Regions from separate parts of the Homo sapiens genome. Here regions 1 and 3 are each linked to region 2. The links are contacts of gene promoters, found by promoter capture Hi-C in blood cells and fetal thymus (Javierre and others, 2016). All regions are on one chromosome and are shown on one strand. Each heading gives the region's core, a stretch centred on a gene start or on the middle of the fragment in contact. The rest is flanking DNA. Distances are from core to core; before and after follow the strand shown. Region 1 overlaps POU6F2 (POU class 6 homeobox 2). Region 2 holds the start of POU6F2 (POU class 6 homeobox 2). Region 3 overlaps POU6F2 (POU class 6 homeobox 2).

Evidence for each region. The method cuts DNA at HindIII sites, captures the fragments that hold promoters and counts their contacts. A CHiCAGO score of 5 or more calls a contact.
Region 1: a fragment that was not itself captured here is called in contact with the fragment with the promoter of POU6F2 in region 2 in 1 of 17 cell types (M2 macrophages); the score reaches 5.9 in M2 macrophages.
Region 3: a fragment that was not itself captured here is called in contact with the fragment with the promoter of POU6F2 in region 2 in 1 of 17 cell types (M2 macrophages); the score reaches 5.3 in M2 macrophages.

Annotation. Positions count from the first base shown.
Region 1 is chr7:39,456,674-39,459,432 of GRCh38, forward strand. The region is part of intron 8 of POU6F2 (POU class 6 homeobox 2); the gene reads left to right. The region is part of intron 2 of LOC105375238 (a long non-coding RNA gene); the gene reads right to left. Among named protein-coding and RNA genes, the nearest start is that of POU6F2-AS1, 52 kb to the left of the region's middle. The HindIII fragment of the contact is 5,036 bases long and covers 1-2,759 here.
Region 2 is chr7:38,976,453-38,979,215 of GRCh38, forward strand. POU6F2 (POU class 6 homeobox 2) reads left to right here and starts at 1,457. Exons shown (of 10, transcript NM_001370959.1): 1 at 1,457-1,606. The coding sequence starts at 1,502. The HindIII fragment of the contact is 7,072 bases long and covers 984-2,763 here.
Region 3 is chr7:39,418,058-39,420,899 of GRCh38, forward strand. All of the region lies in intron 6 of POU6F2 (POU class 6 homeobox 2), which reads left to right. The region is part of intron 2 of LOC105375238 (a long non-coding RNA gene); the gene reads right to left. Among named protein-coding and RNA genes, the nearest start is that of POU6F2-AS1, 13 kb to the left of the region's middle. The HindIII fragment of the contact is 4,321 bases long and covers 1-2,842 here.

The DNA.
Region 1 (2,759 bases), core at 170-2,669, 480 kb after region 2:
ATTTTGCCATCTGAGTTTTCTGGATAAGAACACTAATATAAAGAAATCTGAGTGTTCACCTCTGGCAGTCAACAAATTTTGCAGAGAGATGCTACTTTGTCCAATGGACCATCACCCTGTTTAAATTTCATAAGAATTTCTATTTTATCACGGAGCTAAGTAGAACCAGGAGAAAATACAAGAGTGGAAACTGTCAGAGGAAGAAGAAGGAATTCAGTTTCCTGGTGGAATAACTGTTTCTTGGGGGCCTCATGGAAGATACTGGGCTCAGTAGCCCAGGCTCCCATCCCTCTGAGCTTTAAAGTGAAAGTTTGATAATCCACACAACAGCATCAATGCACACAGACTAAAAGTCCACAGCTTCCTTTTCAACTCTTGTTATTGTCAGTGATCTGACAAAAAGCAGCCTGCACGATCACACATACGGATTTAGTTGATAGACTCAAGGAACTAGTAAGGACACATAAACAATAGAGACGGCAGAGGAAGGGAAGAAAGATTAGAGGACACATTTACATAAAATGTCAGCCCAAGTCATTGGGCTGCCGAATCCTGTGCCAGTGTCTGGTGGCAACACAGGCCTTGGGACTGGAGTAGACCATGGAAACCCTTCCAGATTAAAGACCTGCCCCTCACATACTGGTTAATCCAACTGAATCTCGCTGATCTAGAGATGGGGCTAACAAAGGCAAAAATTTTACTTTCCCAGCCCGCTGATTCCCAGATCTTGGCCACTTGCCATAAGTAGTGACAGTGGGGTAAGGAAAGGGCCAGGGTGGGATGCCTGCTCCGGAGCCCCTCCTCAACAGACCTGTCTGGCCCGTCAGTCCTATACAGGTGAGAGAGCAAGTTTTCTGTGTAGTGAAGCCTGCTGAATAATGGTAAAGGATCAGTAAAGACAATGGCACACAGAGTGCACCACACCCAGACTTGGTCAAGCCAGGGCCACAAAGAAAGATTTCTTTCTGTAGTTGTCAGCAGATCCCCTGCATCAGAATCGCTTGTGTTACTTGTTAAAAATGCACATCCCTGGGCCCAAAGCAGTGACTCTTATACCTGCCAAATTAAGAAAATCACAGTCCTAAAAGTGATATTGTTACATGGAACGTCTCCAGCTTTCCATCTTTTCAGTTTCAAACCTCCATGCTCACACCCTTGCAAGACTGCCAAACCCTTCTTCCCTCTCTCAGAGAGGCCAGACCCCTCTCTCACTGTACCATTCTGTACTCTCTGCTCTAAACCAGAGTTTCTCAGCTATTATTTTATTATCACCCCACTCCCCCTGCAAGCAGCATTTTTAGGTGTTTTGTTTTTATCTTAATTGCCCTCCTTCCTCCCCACCCCGCCCCCCCATAACATTTTAATACCACAGATATGTTGCACATCTGCCCTGTTGATGTACTATGGCCCTTTGGGGGACCACACCATTGTACTAAGACTTTTCCTGCCTCCCCCTCAGAACCAATATCAGCCTCACTGGAAACGCATGCTTTAAACGCAGGGTCACAAAACGGGCTGAGCAGGGAGCAGGTTGGAGGCTGGGTGGTGTGAACATGAGGAGGAGCTGAAGGAGCAGCCAGAATCAGTTCCAGCCCACTGGACATTACCAAGTGCAAATGTACATCCGGAGCAGCCAAATCTTCTAACATTCAGAAGAGTTTGGGAAATGAAGATTTTCCTTTAGAAATAAATGTTTACATGTTAGCAAGTGCTTTTTTTTTTATGTAAACACTAGGAAAGCTGGGTTTTATTTGCACACTGCTCATTTGCAACTTTTGCTCTAGGGATTTCTTTCACGGGGAAAGGAAAAAAGGGCTCGAGACTGCGACTGCCGAAGTGAGCTCCCACAATCCTTAGCGAGCCCGGAAGCAGCTCCAGGCTGATGTGCTCGTGGGGTTTGGAATCCAGAGCACAGCCTCCACTAGGGACGGCCCGAACAAATCTCATTAGCCAAGGGTTGCCTGCCTTCTGGGAGTAGTTTTGGGAGAAAAAAACAGGACTTCCATTCATCTTAACAGTCAAACCAATTTTATAGTCACTGCCCACCCCTGCCCCGCCCGAGCTCATAGATTCTCAGTGTGCTACACTGAAATATTCACTACTCCTAGCACGAACTCCTGCTTCACCCTACCAACCTGACAGGTCCCTACGGTGCCCTGCTCCTCCCTGCATTTCTGCCTGTGTGCACGCTGTCACCACTGACCAGACTATATGGCTCCTTCATTCTCTGAAAACTGCCCATTGGGAAGACCTAGATGAATCCTCCCTCCTCTCCACTCTCCTGTCTCTGCACACCCGGTGTGGATGTCATACCATTAGTTCTTGATTATACTCTGCCTGACACTTTTCTCTAATTGTTTCTAATGCATTAGCATTGGATGCCAACCCCCTATAGACTGTAAACTCCATAGAGGCTGGAACTGTTTCTGAGGCTGGAACTGCCCCTCCCTCCATTCCAGACTCCCAGAAGTTACTTTTCAAAAATAATTAGACTGATTGCAGTAGTTGTACCACTTTCCAATCTTTCTACAACAAAATTATGAGTAATGACATTCTACAGGACTTTTGTCGTTGTTGTTTTAATGTGAAGATAAAAGACAATCTATACCTGTTTTGCTGATTCTGTTGACAGAGTCCATTTTCCTCAGGCTGGAGAAGATCCCTCCCCAGTAATGAGAAAATCTGTACATGAAGCTCCAAGCTCCCCACAGATATTAACATCTTTATTTAAAAGTCCTTGAAAATGGGCATTTGGCGTG
Region 2 (2,763 bases), core at 207-2,706:
GTAGGACTTCAGCGCAGACGGGACATTTAATGATGTTGAGAAGGGCCTTTCCTCAGTTAGCCCTCAGCTCCCAGGAGGGCTACCCAGTTGGTGCACGGTCTCATTTTATTTGGGGATGCTGATTTAACTGTGTGTGTGTCTGTGTCTGTGTGTGTGTGTTTGTGTGTGTGTGCGCGCGCGCTTCGGTCCTTCATTCTTTGCTCCTAAAGATTTCTTTAACAATGTTGAAAATTGTTTTGTTTTTTTTTTCTTACTTGAAGTTCCTTTTGATTAATTTTCAAGCCGTGGGTATTATGCAATAATATACATAATAGTATATATTCTGTATTAAATATTTCTCATTGCTACCCGACCTGTCATCAGTTTAGAGCCTTGAAAAAAATCTCCATTTTAATATTAACACAAGGTTTTCCCATAAATTTGTTTTGAAAAGTTAGGGAGAGTATACTAACTAATGAACTTCAGTTAAAAAGTAGGCAAATGAAAAAAAAAAAGAAAAAAAGTAGGCAAATGCGAATGTTCTTCACTGCCACAAAGCCACCAAGTTAACGGATGGTGTTTATGGGTTTGGGTTTTTGGAGAGCAACTTTACAATACCTGTAGGATTGTCTTGAAAGTCAGGTTCCGATCTTTAGCCTAAGAAGGTTAAAAAGTTGGTAAGTTATATTCTTTTCACCCTTAACAATAACTGACCCATAATGCATTAGCAATCTGTCCCTAGATTGTGAGGAATCAGATAGTTAAAATTAAATTTAGAAAGTTAAAATACTTGTCATCACATTAAAAACACATTACATCAGTTTAGATGAGCTGCAAGTAAATCATCCCTTACCTTTCAGAAGATAAAAAGTTTAGTGACTGCTATTTACACACTTTGAATATTTTATATTACAGTGGTCATCATCATTTACACGGATTATTTTCTATGTCCACTTCCAATTCACAAATATCAGGGTGTTTGTTATGTAGCAGTTCACATTTCAAGCTTCTCTGAAAAGGTGTCCTTATATAAAACAACAGAGATAACTGCATATTATCAAAAGGTCATTTAGAGATTTTAAAAATAAAATCATTAGGGACCCCTTAAGAAAAGTAGAGCAATGAACTGTAATTTTAAAAATGTATATAATAGCACAAAAATCAAAGTCTTAATGGACACTCATTTGAGATAGTTCATTTTGTTTTTGTTTTGTTTTAAACATAGATTTCTAGAGCATTAAAAACAATCCTCATAGGTTTGTTAAACCTTTAGCGGAAGATTACAGCCCATGTTTTTGTCTTTGGTGAATAGCTGTTTGTCTCACTTTATTTACTTGGTATTGGATATTTGTCAATGTCATTTCATATCTACAGAAAATTCTTACGCTCTGTGGAGGTAGTGAATGTGTGTGTGCGTGTCTGCCGGAGGTCACATGACGGTTTCATTCTATTTGGTGGAGCAGCTTGACTTTTTTTCCCCTTGCTTTTGGTGATGGTTGTGAGTGCAGAAGTTGATTGACAGATGCATGCCAGAAACCCCCATTCTCCTTTTCAAAGACAACATATGATGGATTGCTATCTCTCAGCGCAGCAGGACACGGGGACCATGCAAGCTGTAATTGGTCAGGTATGGAGTCAGCCATTTCTCAACTCCCCTTTTTTCCACAAGGGTCTCACCATATGATTCACATAATTCATATTTACAGTACCATCTTTCTATCTGTATCTTCAGCTACCTGCCAGTGTAGTGCTGAAAGTGCGAAAGGCAAAAGGCACCCATTAAATCTGACCAGGGAAACCTCAGCTTAAAACTTCAATGCGATCCTTTTAAACAAAAACTAAAACAACAACAAAAACACTGGAGAATAAATCTAATTTATAATTTGGTCTGAATGTTTCTTAAAAATCTATTTTAGAAATTTGCTTTCTTTTTGGATTTTGATCTCTGAAAGAAAGTGCGAGAAGAGAATCAAGTGTGGTTTCCTAGGTAGTAGTTAATATTTTTCTAATGCTGTTCAATATTTTTATTTTGACTGTGCTCTCTCCTTCTCTCTTTCTCTCCCTCTCTCCCTTTCTCCATATGGGAAATATAAATATATAAATACATGTGCCTTGACTTCTAACCCAGATAATGTGTGATTGAGCCCGGTAAATGTAGTAGTAGTCTTGGCTGCTGCAGAAGGGCAGGCTGCAAATTAAACACTGTCACAATCTTGAAAGGTCCAGGTGGTCTGCTCGCGCTTCCTAATGCAATCCAGCACAGCAGCTTTAATAAACAGCTCCATTTAGTGCCTCCTCCTTGTATCTAGGGAGGTGAGCTGGTCTGGGGCTGCTGTGATGAAATGCCAGAAGAATATCTCTCAGAGGCCTCACAAGCTGATTTTTAGAGCTTTCCCGCTCTGTCGTCTTTGTCTTCCAAATGGGTCAGTGAATCTTGCTCTTTCTGTTTGGTGCTTTCCGTGAAGTCAGTAGTTTATGTTTGTGTTAAAATGTTTGCGTTGTAAGCTAAATCAGAAAACGAAAAGGATCATTGTATTTTCATTTGCCTTCAGATAACTAAAGTGGTGGAAGGAAGGATAGTACCCTCCTGCAAAGGGAGGGTGATTTTTCTGACTATGATGGGGGTGGGGTAAGGAAAAAGGAAATATACATGGTTTCTTTTCTTTTTTGTAATGTATTTTTGACTAAATTTTTCTAAGTTATCTATGTTTACTTATGGATTGTTAACTCATAAACCAGACTATGGTCACGAATATTTATAAACTCCTAAAAGTTTTTTTTTTT
Region 3 (2,842 bases), core at 339-2,838, 440 kb after region 2:
CATTATACAGATTAAGAAACTTCCAATATCACCCAACTAGAAATGGCTGGATTCAAACTCAGTTATGTCTAATAGAGATTGTTTTTAATCACTGTACTGTAATAATAATTTAAAGTATTTTGTTTTGTTCACTGCAGCTAGAACCAAATGGCTAGAACGGCATCTGGCACATAAAGACCATAAATACAGTAATAAAATCTGTGGCCTGAATGGAGTATTTCATATATGCTAATATGCTAGTCAATAAGCATTTTTGCATAAATTCATCATTTCATTTCATTCTCACAATGATTTTGCACTATCATCTCTAATTTACAGCTGAGGAACTGAAGGCTCAGAAAAGTTAAACAGGTCAGGCACGGTGGCTCACGCCTGTAATCCCAGCATTTTGGGAGGCTGAGGCAGGCAGATCACTTCAGGTCAGGAATTCGAGACCAGCCTGGCCAACATTGTGAAACCATGTCTCTACTAGAAACACAAAAATTAGCCAGGTATAGAGGCAGGCACCTGTAGTCCCAGCTACTTGGGAAGCTGAGGCAAGAGAATCACTTGAACCCAGGAGGCGGAGGTTGCAGTGAGCTGAGATCGCACCATTGCACTCCAGCCTGGGTGACAGAGTGAGACTCTGTCTCAAAAAAAAAAAAAGAAAAAGAAAGAAAAGTTAACCAACTTTCCAGAGCCATACAGTAAATGATAGAGCCTGGATTTGAGCCCAGATCTGGCTGCTTTGAAGCCCAGCTTTCCTCTGAAGCAAAGCTGCTTTCAGCATAACGTGTGTAAGTGCCTAATACAGTGCCTACCATATAGTAGTCATTTCATAAATATAGTGCTCTCTTCATGTGTGTGTGTGTGTATATATATATGTATATATGTATATATGTGTATATATGTATATATGTATATATATGTGTATATATGTATATATATGTGTATATATGTGTATATATGTGTATATATGTATATATATGTGTGTATATATACATATATATGTATACACATATATACACATATATACACACATATATACGTATATGTGTATATATACACATATATACGTATATATGTGTATATATACACATATATATACGTATATATGTGTATATATACACATATATATACGTATATATGTATATATTTTTTAACCCACTCAGGGTGGCTGATCTAAAGTAGAGTCTGTTTGGGTTTTTTGCTTGTTTTTTGGGACTGAATCTCACTCTGTCGCCCAGGTTGGAGTACAGTGTTGCCATCTCTGCTCACTGCAACCTCTGCCTGCTAGGTTCAAGCGATTCTCCTGCCTCAGTCTCCTGAGTAGCTGGGATTACAGGCACGCACCATCACGGCCCACTAATTTTCGTATTTTTTAATAGAGATGGAGTTTCACCATGTTGTCTAGGCTGGTCCCAAACTCCTGACCTCAAGTGATCCGCCCACCTCAGCCTCTCAAAGTGCTGGGGTTACAGGAGTGAGCCACCATGCCTGGCCTAAAGTAGGGTCTGTTTAATATATTGAAGTTTTATGTGGATATGCTTTTAAGTGGGTCATCCAGCATTACTATATCTCATGAAAATGGCAATTGTTTATTTAGTTAACTCACTTCAATTGTTTTAACAGCTAACATTTTGGGGTTGTTGTAAAAAGTAAAAGTAACAAAGGATGTTAAATCCTTGGCACTCGCATCTGTCTTGAAACCCATGGTCCCGCCAGCATGCAGAGAAGACCAGTTTGATGATTTTGAGTCAGCTGCCCACACATTAGTGACCGGGTAAGCTGGACAATCTTGTTTTCTTCAGATTAGCAGCAGCAGCAGCAACAGGCTAGATGATGCCTAGCTTGCCTCTATGACATGACTATGTGGCTGCTAGACATAATAGCATTCACTTTTCTCCGTAACAAAATGTTGTAATTTATTTAATCAAAAGGCAGGGCCACAGAGATATTACCTGCTAGGCTCATTTAACAACTGTTGATTTCCTCTGATGGTCTAGAATGAAAACATTCCCATCTGCCTTCAGTAAATCTGCAAGTAATGTCAGCAAACTATCCTAGATAACCAAAAGGAAGGAACAAATAACATGGACAAAACCAAAAATCTGTTTTAAATTCACATGGAATTTGAAGATTTTCTTGCAAGTTTAGAATGGAAGCCTTCTTTATATGAGGATCTTCTCAGTATTACTGGGTTATAAAAGAACTATTTAGGATTTTTAATACAAAGGGTAACATTACTGAAAGAAAGAATGTTTATGTTTAAAAGGTGATACACAAATTCCTTAAATGAACACAAAAGGAAATGACATAGTGTGCTACTCCAGACTCTGAGAATTCATTTTGATTTCTGAGACCATAAAATCATACACATTTCTAAATATTTGAAAAGTAGAGTTTCTGCCCCTCTAGGCTCACATGGAGATAAGGCAGTAGAAATGGGAATAGTATCTATGGTTTTGCACATCTAGACTGGTTCCTGAAATCCAGAACCTAGGTGAATCAGAAAGTACTAAAAACTTACCTTCTCAGAAACCAAATATGATACTACAAACATTGCTTAAAATGCTCCAATTTTTTTAGCAAAGTTAAATAGATTTTTTTAAATTCTGAGTTATGGATTAAGTTAATGGTTTTGTAGCTAAACATGTCAATGGATCTTTGATGTAAGTATCATTATTCCACCTTTTCCATTACTTAATAATATATAGGGCTAGTCTATGAATGATATCATCTGGCAAGGCTGTGAGACATGTTCCTGACAAGGCTGTACTTTGAAACTAACTTTTGAGATTAAAAATGCCAAAATTCATGCTATCAGCATAAATTATAAATTATTGAGCTTAAAACAGGACAG